2 separate regions of the Homo sapiens genome follow, and region 1 is linked to region 2. Evidence: promoter capture Hi-C in human tissues and cell types (Jung and others, 2019). All regions are on one chromosome and are shown on one strand. The core of a region is centred on a gene start or on the middle of the fragment in contact, and the rest is flanking DNA. Distances in the headings are between cores, read along the strand shown. Region 1 overlaps TMTC1 (transmembrane O-mannosyltransferase targeting cadherins 1). Region 2 holds the start of TMTC1 (transmembrane O-mannosyltransferase targeting cadherins 1).

What was found. Contacts are between HindIII fragments. The study calls those that stand out against the background at their distance.
Region 1: a fragment that was not itself captured here is called in contact with the fragment with the promoter of TMTC1 in region 2 in 2 of the 25 tissues and cell types used here (IMR-90 fibroblasts and heart left ventricle).

The regions. Positions count from the first base shown.
Region 1 is chr12:29,601,993-29,608,385 of GRCh38, reverse strand. It overlaps TMTC1 (transmembrane O-mannosyltransferase targeting cadherins 1), which reads left to right. Exons shown (of 18, transcript NM_001193451.2): 7 at 4,087-4,208. Among named protein-coding and RNA genes, the nearest start is that of OVCH1, 110 kb to the right of the region's middle. The HindIII fragment of the contact is 6,331 bases long and covers 47-6,377 here.
Region 2 is chr12:29,782,330-29,788,737 of GRCh38, reverse strand. TMTC1 (transmembrane O-mannosyltransferase targeting cadherins 1) reads left to right here and starts at 4,796. Exons shown (of 18, transcript NM_001193451.2): 1 at 4,796-5,288. The coding sequence starts at 4,987. The HindIII fragment of the contact is 32,748 bases long and covers 1-6,408 here.

The DNA.
Region 1 (6,393 bases), core at 1,963-4,462, 180 kb after region 2:
ACCATGTGTACTTTGGAAAATACCATGAATTTCCTCTTTTTTCTCCTCATATTTTGTTAGGGTATTATTGAATCTACTAGGCTAAAAGAAGCTATAAATTATTTAGCCAATTTTGTCACATCAGTGATCCACAGGATACAGAATCGGGTTCCCTCCTAGTCTGTCTCATTCTAGAAAATTTAGCCATGTCCATGATGCACTTTTTTTCCCAACTTTACAAGTCTCTGCTTGGCAGATTGATATGTTTTTCAAATAAGTATGTTGTTCTTGAATATTTTTAATCTCTCTTGACTGAATGGGGATGAGGAAAGACAAAGCGTATTGTCATCCATTTAATTTGAAAATAGAAATTTTTTCATGAGTATTAATTTTCTCAAAATGAAATAAAACAATGAAACTTTATTGAGTTTGGGCACTGTGCCACTGTCTTCCATTTCCTGTTTTAAAAACAAAGGAAAACACCCCACAAGATTAGCAATGTAGGGTGGCGGGCTGTGTGTAAGCTCATAGCTCACAACGCCCAAAAAATGGACTTCAGGTTTTCAAGAAATCTTTGTAATGACCCAACTACATTCAACGCTCAGGCATACTTGCCTCCTTTTATAGTTGAGGCACCTTGAGGATGGAAGGGATAATATTGCCTGTCCAAGTACCAATGGTGTATCGGTGGCAGGGTCACTACCTGAGTCTGGATGTGGACCCTGAACACTCACTCACGTTTCTTTCTATGCATAAGGGACCCTTTAGTCACTGCCATTAGGTGAAGGTCAGTTCCATAGCAAAGTGTGCAAAACGCTCATTATCCACTTGCTGACATGACTAGTCTTATTGCCTGCTTTGTACATTCCATATCTTCTCCCAAGAATGTGCCTAGCTGTGACCACCCCTCATTCCCAAATTTGTCTTCCTTGTAAACGTTTATTGATATTTCAAGCCCAGATGTCACCTCCACCAAAAAGCCCTCTCTGCCTGCTCCCCTTCTTCTACCCAGTTTTTTCCTCTGTATCCTGCCTGATACATTTATTCACTTAATTGATTTATTCAGCAAATATTCACACCGGGCACTGAGCTAAGCAAAAGTCGTTCACCAGTGAACACAAGTCAGGAGCACTCTGTGCTCATGGAGCTCACATTCTAGTGAGGCAGACAGACAATAAAGGCAGTAAACACCCAGATACACACGTAATTACAACTAGAGTGATGTCATGAAGGAAATAAAGACTGTGCTGGTGTCTGAAGAAACTGGTGGAGGAACAGATGAACACGCAGCCCTGTGGCTTTTCCATGTGCACATCAGATTTCTGGGGGAGGCTGATCGCTCCTTGACTCTCCCCCCATCTCCGCATCCCCAACAGCAATCAGTGCCATGGGCATCCTGCTCACTACGGGTGTCCGTGAGTGAGGGGGGGGGGCAGGAAGGTTGGCTGTGCTCCCAACTGACACCCACCACTGAGATGAAGGCACCTCCCAACCTGGTCCAGCCTGGGTGACAGAGCCAGATTCAGTCTCAAAAAAAAAAGAAAGTGAACACCCACCGTAGTGAGGAAGGTGCGTTGGAAGGGTAAGAACGTGTGATGCTGGGGATATAGAGAGAAGCCTCTTTCAGATTCCCAGTGAGGGCTCTTTCCCAATAACCTTGATGAGGGGCCGTGGGGTGGCTCATTGGGTAAAACAGTATCTAGGGACATGGATAACAGCCTGATCATTGTTCTGTTTATACCTGCACTCTTAATTCTTAATTCTTAGGATGAATTACTAGGGTGTATTACATTCTCTTTAGAAACTTCTTTGGGAAGACGTGAATAATTTTGTAAAAAAGTATTTTAGCTTTCGAAGCATGAAAAGAAGTAATCAACTATCTCTATAAAAGTGCACCTATAAAAAGGGAATAGCAACTTACTACCCAATAATAAGCTCAGAGTGAATGAGGAACATTTGACAAGACACTCTTTATTTGGGGTCTGTTTTCAATTGTAAGAAGAAATACTTGCTCTTGATATACAGGATTCTTGTGAAGATTTTTTAAAATTATGTACTTGAAGGTAATGCTTATATAGTGTTGGTGGGAATGCAAATTAGTTCAGCCACTGCAGAAATAAGTTTGGAGATTTTTCATTGAATTAAAAAATAGAACTACCATTCAACCCAGCAATCCCACTACTGGGTGTATGCCCAAAGGAAAATCATTCTACCAAAAAGATGCCTGCACTTATGTGTTTATCACAGCACTTTTCACAATAGCAAAGACATGGAATCAGCCTAGATACTCGTCAACAGTGGATTGGATAAGGAAATTGTAGTACATATACACCATGAAATACTAAGCAGCCATAAGAAAGAACAAAATCATGTCTTTTGCTGCAACATGGAGGCTGTTAAAGGCCATTATCCTGAGCGAATTAACACAGAAACAGAAAACCAAATACCACATATTCTCACTTATAAGTGGGAGCTAAACCTTGGGTACACACAGACGTAAAGACGGGAACAATAGACATTGGAGACTCTGAAAGGAGGGAGGGGAAAGGGAGGCAAGGGCTGAAAAACTTGCTATTGGGTACGATTTTCACTCTCTGGGTGGCAGAAACAATAGAAGCCCAAGCCTCAGCATCACACAATATACCCTTGTAGTAAACCTGCGCATGTACCCCAAATTGAAAATAAAAATTTAAATTTAAACAAATAAATAAACTATACAGTTTAAATTCTCAAATTGAAATGTACTTTCTAAACCCAAAGTATAGTCTAAATTAAAAAGATAGCTTGCAGCTTTTAAATAAAATGAATTTGTTCTTTTTTTTTTTTTTTTTTTTTACCCTTTTTGGTCAGTTTTGGTAGATCATGAGTTGAAGGCTTGTTACATAATCTATTTTTTTCTTCCTTTAAATTCTGGTTCCTTTAGGTCAAAATGAGATCATTACTTATAGATCCATTAATTATTTAAGGGCAACTGTCCAAATCATATGGAATCACTCTCAGAAATTGTATTACCCTATATATTTTAGTCCGTAAAACAAATATTTTAATAACATCAAGGTGACAAGTATCCCAAGATGTTTAAAATCGTTATACTTTGTATAGTTAAAGTATTTGTAGCTTTTATTAGGGAGTTTTATTTACATTTATGAAATTCTTTTACTTATTCTTTTCCAATTATTAAAAATAATAGACTTTAAAATGTTTAAAGGAAACATTAAAAGTTGAAATATGGACAGTCTATTTGGTTTTTTTCTTAAACTTAAAAAATACATATTCTCCAGTACATTAAGTTTTGTTTTAAATATAACTCTCTTCAAATGTGTCTATACCATAAATACACATGGAAATACAAATGAGTTTTTACAATGTCATTGCAACATATTATCAGTAATAAACAGAAGTTTTTTTCTGTTAATTATAAGTGACATAAAAATCTTTGCAAATAAAGATATATAATAACAGAGGAGGTTCTTTGTCAATTTAATGAATTATTATAACGATTTTTTATTCAAAAAATCAATGGAGTAAATACTCGCTTGCCAGCCTAATTTGAGAGGTGTGAAGGTATGCTTCAATTCAAATGATTCTCTCTCCATTGGCATCCCAAATTTTATCATTAGTATTTGATTTTCTTGATGTTAAACTTTGCTTCTCCTGGTGAATTTTTTAAAGAAAATACATTATATTTTGGGAAGATATAATTAAATTCTCTGCAGTGCCTTACTGCATTTGATTTTAGCCAGTTGCTTTGCTCTTTGAGAATGGGGTGTCTGGAAAGACAGGGATTCTGAACGGAGCCAGAACCAAGAAGCAGGGTTGCTGTAAATCCAGCCCTAAACAACAGGTAGCGGTCACTGACTGTAGTGGGCCAATATCCATGTTTCTGGGTGGCAAATGTGTGTCAGGGTACATGTGTATGTTTTGACATGCCAGCCATTTTAGCCCGTCAGCTTTCTCTGTTAAATTCAGCACGCCGGTCAAAAGGTTTATATTGGTCTAATTTATTCATTTCTTCATTGAGAACCTGAAAGTGAAGGAGATGGTTAAATGCTGCCTGAAGTGGAATTCAACAGAAGTTAATGTTTCCTTCACTATTGTGTGTTTCAGAGACTGGAGCACAAGGAGGTTTTAGTCGGCTTGTTGTTCCTGGTGTTCCCGTTCATTCCAGCCAGCAACCTCTTCTTCAGGGTGGGTTTTGTGGTGGCGGAGAGAGTCCTTTACATGCCTAGGTAACTATTGCACGTGACTTCCTCCTACAAGACCTGCCCTCTGTCACCAACATTGATAGTTCCAGAGAGACAGTCTTCTGTGTGTAGACCATTAGATCCTCATGGGACAAGGGATATTATTATTTCAGCTTTAAAAACAGCCACACAGAAGGTTGGATGAGAGCAAATGTCCACACATGTACTCTTGTTTACAGTGGTTTACCTTCAGTTGCAAACTTTATAGTTTAAATGTGAAATATTAACTTGAGTATATTCAGGATTTTAGTAGTAATCATTTATCACTACATCTATGTCTAAATGGGTGTTATTAAACAGAATTATAATACTTTTCTAGAAATGTTTTTTGACTTGCATAAAAGTATTATGTTCAGTAGCATGATTGTAATTAACTTCTTTTGTTCGTTCTTTTTTCTTCAATTTAAAAATGGAAGCAATCTCAAGAAAATTTGTCCTTGGGAAAAGAACAATGATTTAAAAACTAGAAAAGACATTCAAATGTGTGTGATTACATAATGCCACTTAGCTCTGAATGTTTGAACTGTGCTGAAGCTTGTCTGTTCTCTTGTCTTATTCCAATGTCATTGTTCCAAGGCCACTTTTCTTTTCAGATGCTTGAAAATGTCACTGAATCAGGAAACCAAGTCTTGGTTCTGCCATTTATTGGTTGACTGACCTTGAACAAGACACAAAGCTTTTTTTGCCCCCAGATTTTCTCATTTTTACAATAGAGATTTTAGTAAACTCGCTAAAATTAACACTTTGGACTATGATACTGCCTTTTAGGAAAGTTCATTCTTCTTCTATAAGTATGAACTTTCCTAAAAGGCAGTATCATAAACCAAAATGTTAGGAGGAAATGAGTGTTTTTTATTTATGATATTGTACTAGAAATTTTAAAACACTTATAATTAGAAGTGAATTTCATAATCTTTGATTCCTTCAAACCAAATACCTAATAGCTTTCTTAACACTTTGCAGCATGTGGTTTTGACTTGGTTAAGGGGAAAGCAGCCCTTAATTGTTTACTGTGTCTTCAGCCCAATTTGGGAAGGAGATGAGTGCTTGATAAATACTATTCAATAAGGACAGAAATACAACACAATTCTTTATATTCTACGTGGTTTAAGGTAAGAGTCTTGTGAAGGCTTGCCAATAATAGGGAATACACCTGTAGTATAGAAGACCAAAAAGTGGCATCAATCTGTGTTCTAAATATGTTTTTGCTTAGACCAGTTGAATATATCTTAGCTTTTCTTTGTAGTACTGATGATTCCAATGGAATCATTCTTCATTTGATAGATATTCATAGAGCCCCTCTGCCATAAATGCTCTACTAAAATCTAGTGCTACACAAGTAAGTGAATCTCAGTGTCTGCCCTCAAAGAGTTAACTGCCAATTAACAAAATGGAATCTCTCATATTAAGCGTTTAATAGGTCCTAATATTTTATAAATACTATTGTATTCATTAATGCTATTTTGTCATTAATTGCATCAAAATTTTATTGCATTTTTATTATATTTCACTTACTATTATAAGCATGTTATATTCTTTATGTCAAGTAATTCACACTGTAGTAGTGGGTCACAGCCTGCCCCTGAAGTCAGAGGGCCTGCATTCAAACTCTGGCTTAAACATGATCGTGATTCCTCTAAGCTTGTTTTCTCATCTGCATAAAATGGAAATAGTAATAGCACCCAACTCAATGACATATTGTGATCATTAAATGAAACCGTTATAGGGCCAGGTGCAGTGGCTCATGCCCCAGCACTTTGGGAGGCTGATGCATGTATATCACTTGAACCCAGGAGTTTGAGGCCAGCCTGGGCAACATGGTGAGACCCTGCCTCTACAGAAAATAACAAAAACTTAGCCAGATGTTGTGGGATGCACTTGTGGTCCCAGCTACTCAGGAGACTAAGGTGGGGGATCTCTTGAGCCCGGAAGGTTGAGGATGCAGTGAACCATGATCGTGCCCCTGCACTCCAGCCTGGGTGACAGAACCAGACCCTGTCTCAGAAAAAATAAATTTAAAAACATGAGATGCCAGGCGCGGTGGCTCAAGCCTGTAATCTCAGCACTTTGGGAGGCCGAGGCGGGCAGATCACGAGGTCAGGAGATCGAAACCATCCTCGCTAACACAGTGAAACCCCGTCTTTACTAAAAATACAAAAATTAGCCAGGC
Region 2 (6,408 bases), core at 3,547-6,046:
ACACACACAAAGATTAACTCTTCATTCAAATGTCTTTGGTATAAGTCTGACTTTAATTTAAAATGTAAATTTATACAATGGCATTTTAGTGCTTCCTCTGACATTTCCTATAAGTTGTAGAGGTTGTATAAAACACTAAAAGTAGCTTTTTGATTTATGTATTCAAATGTAAAATAACATGTATGTTATTAAAATTACATTCAGATGAAAATAGTGTTCTTTTCTATTATACACAATAATTTCTAAGACTATGGATATTAGGTTTGCAATGTTGCAGCAGTTTTCAAAGCCAGAGATTCCACTCTTTGAAGAATTCTGGTAAATCCTTGATATTGATGTGGTTCAGGACATGCTGCCCCAAAATATGACACCTTTGACTTAGTGAATATTTTAAGCCAAAGGAATTCAAGAAATGGCAGGTGCAGGAAGGACTTTCTGATCTTCCTATGAAGCAGGTCATAAGACCTTCATGTGAGAGGTGCCCCTCCTATCTTCCAAGGAGATTGTCCTTATTTCCAAAGCTGCAGTGATTCCCAGATAAATATGAACAAACAGGCCTTGCTAAGGTTCCCCCAGTTTACAACTCTTAGTTCATACCCATTTTTATCCTATCATATTTTTCTATGTTTCTTTATTCTTCAGCAAACATACTTTGAAAACAATCAGGTTTAACTACTTCTTCGGGTCTTCAATTCCTTATGAAGTCTCCTGTGTCACGAAAAACTTATACTAAACGAATTTGTATGCATTTCTCTTGATCTGTCTTTTGTTACAGAGATCCAGCCAGGAACCAACAAAGGTAGGAAGAAAAGACAGTGTTCCTCTCCTGCAATATTTTGTATTGCAATGTACCTATGTATACTTTTATCTTGTAGTAATATACTGACAAAGTTTATTGCCTGAGTGCCAGAAAATGCAAGGTCACAAATAATTTTTGATACTCTTAAATTTTATTACCGTGCAGATGCCACAGAGAGACACTTTAGGGATGGAAGGAAAGACAGTTTACCTCCAGGGAGATCCCCTTTTTCCTCCTGGGGCTGCAGCCGGGCTGCCACTGTTGCTTCTGCTGCCACCAGTCTGGGCCCAGGTCTGGGCACAGCCCCAGGCTGTCCGACACCTGCCCTGTCAGGTGTTGGGCCAGCTTCTTAGAGCACATGTTGCCTGCTGTACCACAGGCCCATGGGTTGGGGGGTAATTTAAATTTTTTTGTTCTTCTTTCTACTTTTCTGTATTTTCTTCAAGAGCAGTAATATTTAAACAACTAGACAACAAAAATTTATGTTTTAATGTAAACTATAGTATCATTTCTTTTGTAAACGATATTATCACCTTTGTAATATTGCATTTGGCCATTTATATAGGTTATATTTGAATAAAGGACATCATTAGGCTGAAAAAAAGCACAGGGAGCAGTGTTAAAATAAAAAGATTATTCAACAATACTTGTTAAAGCATGGTAGAATTTATTCAGGACCATCATGATAGTTATAGGGACCACTGCAATGCGGTCCTTCAGTGGGGAAGACAGACTGGACTCAACTTCAAATACAGCAAGAACCCCCTACCCTTGATATCTGATCACTCTCTTGCCAAACTGACTTAGTAGTGTTCTTTGCTAAAACTGGATTTTACAAGGAAGTACAATGATGGTGCTAGGAAGTTTCAGAAGACTAACTAAAGTTTGGTCAAGCAAAGAATTGTTGTTAGCAGTAATTTGAAATTGGTTTTATTACAATAGCTTGCCCTTGATTTATTTTTAGTTGTGTCCTAATCTCTTTCAGAAATATGGTCCATCTTAATTTGCATGAGTGACTTAATCTATATGAGCCTCAGAGAGGTACTTCTACAATAATTCATGTTTTATTATAAATTGCTTTTGAGTGGACACAAGGCGTTTCAGGAGGTAGTATTGCGCTAATTATCAATCCTTTAAAAATAATTAGAGGCTAAGTAACAAGAATTAAATCTAACTTCCTTTTGGGCCCCTTTATTAGTCAAGATGGATGTTTTCCACTTTAAGAGAGAAGCAAATGGCTTGATGGGCTGGCATATCAATGTAAACCTCTCTCTGACATCAGTACTTCTATACTTTTCCTACCACACAGAGCAGTATTGAATCAGGAGGTGATGAGGCTGCAAAGAAACTAATTATTATTATTATTATTATTATTATTATTATTATTTTTAGAGATAGAGTCTCACACGGTCCCCAGGCTGGAGTGCAGTGGCGTGATCTTGGCTCACTGCAACCTCCACCTCCCAGGTTCAAGCCATTCTCCTGCCTTGGCCTCCCAAGTAGCTGGGACTACAGGCGCGTGCCACCACGCCTAGGTTATTTTTGTATTTTTAGTAGAGACAGGGTTTCACCATGTTGACCAGGATGGTCTCGATCTCCTGACCTGATCTGCCCACCTAGGCCTCCCAAAGTGCTGGGATTACAGGGGTGGGCCACCATGCCAGGCCCGAAGGAACTAATTTTTAAAAATATTCACTGATCAGTTGTCCTTGAGAAGACTTGAAGCATTTCACTATTTTAAGTCAATCTCAAATTTGTCATCTGAGCAAAATAGAATAAAGATGCCACTGAACCTAGAGGAAAGATTAGGTAACCAGGAATCCTACTTTCAGGTTTCCTTTATCTCTTCTTTTTATGATCTCTTTGGAGTCTCAGTCCCAAGTCCTGCACTACTCTCCATGGTCATGGAGCACTCTGATACTGTTTCCATCTAAAAAAGAAAACAACTCCGAGAAGAAGGGGGTAGCCAGAGCTCTTCCTTGGAAAAGGATGACTTAAGGATAATTTGAGGAAGGAAAAAAGACTTTCTTTCTATAAAAATCTACTATTAGAGGCCACTCTTTTCTTTTCTTTTTTGAGGCAGGGTCTCACTCTGTAGCCCAGGCCAGTCTTGAACTCCTGGCCTCAAGCAACGCTCCTGCCTTGGCCTCCCAAAGTGCTGGGATTGCGGGTGTGAGCCATTGCACCTGGCCTAGAGTCACTCTTTTGGGTTAAGACGTTCTCTCTAGAAAGCCTCCGTTAATTATAGGTAAGGATTGATACATTGACCTATTACCTCAACTATGATTTCAGCAAAGATAATTTCACTATCCCAATCAGCTGTTAACTTAGAAAGCTAGACTTTTATGGTGTTAACCACACACACATACAGACGCACACACACGAGCAGCTTTGGGTCTTCCAATCCTATACTTAGCACATTGTAGCACAAAGAATCTCCTTAATATATTTTTATTAAGTTAATAGGTGAATAGGAAAGGCTGTAGTGTGTTATACGGGGAAATAGACTCAGGTGTGTCTAGATATTAAAGTCGGTATATTAAGGTTACCAAGCGTGAAAGATTTTGATGGAAGAATGAAAACATCCATGTCCAGGACTTCCAGTTTCATTTCTCAGTCACTAATTTCAAGTCACCAAATAAACAAAGTGAAAATGGGTGAAACGTACTTTGAGTTACAATAAGTTTATCTTAATTCATTGACTTTTCAACTGCTCAGATGTCTTAAAATTTTTTAAAAAGTAAGTTGTTATAGTAAAGAGCCACACAAATACTCATAGCAGAGGAACAATTTCTGGATTATGTCGGTGAGCTTTTTAAGGGTTTGGGGAGGATGAGAATAAAAGGGTGACTTTTTATTTTCAGTTTTTCTATCTGGATGTGTCAAATTCCTGATAACTTCTAACACTCAGCAATGGAAATTTAGAAGGTGCCTGAAAGAACAAATAGAATTTTCAGACCTGGAGAAATTCTAGTAATCATCACTCTGGGACATATTATTAAAATTAGTATTTTAAAAAAGAAAACAATCTTTCAGAAAGACAGGAAGTTTAGGAGCCAAAGCCAGAGGCCCTAATACAAATCGCCCCCACCTCCCCATCCCCCCATCCCCACCTTCTTCCCCGCCCTGTTCAAACACGCCCACAGCCCAGGAAATAATGAGACCCAAGTGATCCAGCTAGATAGAAAAAGTAGTTTGCTTGGCATCTCCCAAATTATCTTGAGCAAACAATAAAATAAGAAATGTTTCAGAAGACAATTCGGCTCCCAGGCCCAAACCAAAACTCGAACCTGGTACTTTTTGTAAGTGCGGGCCAAGAAAGGGGCTGTAAAGTTAAAGAGCCGGTGGCGCCTCTGAACACACCCGGGCAGGGCGAGCAGGATGTCCTTGTCCAGGGAGACCCCTTCTCCTGGCTTTGAGGAAGGTGCTCCCTATCCCCGCGGGTTCCTCCGCCAAGCGGGACGCCGCGCCGGGCGGGTGAGAGAAAGCCCGGGCAGGAGAGCACAGAGCCGGCGACTGGACGCGAGCGCGGGGCGGGTGGAGAGCGTCTCTCCGGGCGCCGCTGCTGTTGTCCCGGGTGCTGAAAAGCCGGGAACTTCCCGGGAAGCAGCGGCACTTTTCTCCCTGGAAGGTGGGTGTGGGGGTTCCAGACTGCGCACCTGCTAAACCCTCCTGGGTCCCCCGGGAGGGGTCCGCCAGATGTGCCCCTTCCCAGCCCCATTCGGGGGAGAAGGATGGGGGCGGGGGCGTGGGGGTGAGCACAGCCGGACACCGCAAGTGGGAACCTGGGGTGTCCTTCCCCGCAGCTCCCGGGCAGCCGCGCGCCGCGAACCCCGGTCCACCTGCAAGCAAGGCGGGCCGGGGGCAGAGGGCGCCGGGCTGTGCGGGGGAACCGGCCCGCGTCCCGGGATTGGGGGGCGGTGGAAGAGAGAGCGAGCGGGCATGCGCAGTGGGGCGGAGGAGGTGGCGATGGCCGGGGGAGGCGGGGGGACTGCTGTTTATTTGCAGCTGGGCCAACTCCGCGGCGCAGGCGGCGGCGGAGCGCGGGGAGCTCGCGGCGGGTCCAGCTGCCGCAGCACCATGCCCGAGCCCCCCTCCGGGCAGACGCCGCGCGCCGCCGGGGCCCCGGTAGGGGAGGATGCCAGACGCCCGGGAGAGGCCAGGGCAGCAGCGGCGGCGGCGGCGCGATGGTGGTGACCACCTCTGCCCGAGGCGGCGGCGGGGACCGCACACCCTCCCGGCGGCGGGGCTGCGGGCTAGCGCCGGCCGGGGCCGCGGCGCTGCTGGCCGGGGCAAGCTGCCTGTGCTACGGCCGCTCCCTGCAGGGCGAGTTCGTGCACGACGACGTGTGGGCGATCGTGAACAACCCCGACGTGCGGCCCGGCGCCCCGCTCCGCTGGGGCATCTTCACCAACGACTTCTGGGGCAAGGGCATGGCCGAGAACACCAGCCACAAGTCCTACCGGCCGCTCTGCGTCCTCACCTTCAAGTGAGTCCCTCACCTCGCGCTAGCCGCCGCTGCCTCCTCTACCCTCCGCCCGTCCCTCGGACCGGGAGAAGTTGCGGGACTGACTTGGGGGCATTTCATTTTTGCCGCCCTTTCCCTCCACGCCTCCCTCCTCTCCAGGATGTGCATGGCACTTTGCTCCGGGATCCACTGCCCGGCTAATCTGGGCTCTCGGGGCGGTTCGGGAGGCGCCGGCTGGGGAGTTGGGATCGAGTTTCTCAACTGTCTGCCCTCTCAGCGGGCTTCTCTCTCGAGGCAGGGCTGGGAGCGGGCTGGTGAAACCGCCTCCGCACCCCTTCGCCTGCCGGATCGTGACCAAGTGGGACTAGCGCGGACCCAGAGGGTTCCGGAGGGGTGGCGGTGGTGGCGATGCTTCCAAGTAGAGAATTTCTCGGAGGCTGTTGGGCAGCTTTGCAGATGAGAAGTGTATCAGCCCCTTAAGGGTTTCGTTCAGATGAGACGAGGCGGGAGCCTTGAGCTGACAGGGCTGCGTGGGTTCAGGAGAGGGAGCAGAAAACTCTCCCGAGCCCCCCAGCCCCCGCCTTGCACCCTTGGCTGCTCCCAGAGGCTCTCCAATCTGCCAGACTTCTCTGGATCTAGACTTTAGAAGGTGCAGAGAGAGGTAACGCAGAGCCTAGGCTTCTCCAGGGACCCTGGGGCCCCAGCCGAAATAGTTTTTCTTTTACAACCTCGGAGTCATGATTCAGCGTTTCTGGTGTGAATAAGCGTAAAGGGAACCGAGAATATGCCAGGTTTTTGAGGGGTGGAGTATTTTCTTTAATTTGAAAAGAAGCCTAGCTTCTGAGGAAAGAAGAGAAGTGCTCATTTAAGGGAAATGCTATCTTACACAATCAGGAGCTTGACTCAACCCTTTATAATGTGGCTCAGCATTGAAGTTCATTTTAACGCGCCGGTCAAAACTGTTGAAATAATATTGGTGCGCTATTATCGGCGTTTTAAGCCTTTTTGCAACGGGTGTAATAGGAACCCGTGTTTATGGTAATGATTATTTGAGACTGGGTTGGCAGCTTGAAAAGCCTGCTCTGGATGAGAGGCTGAGGCCTCTTGACAGGTGTCTCTGATGACTCAGAAAAGGAAACCA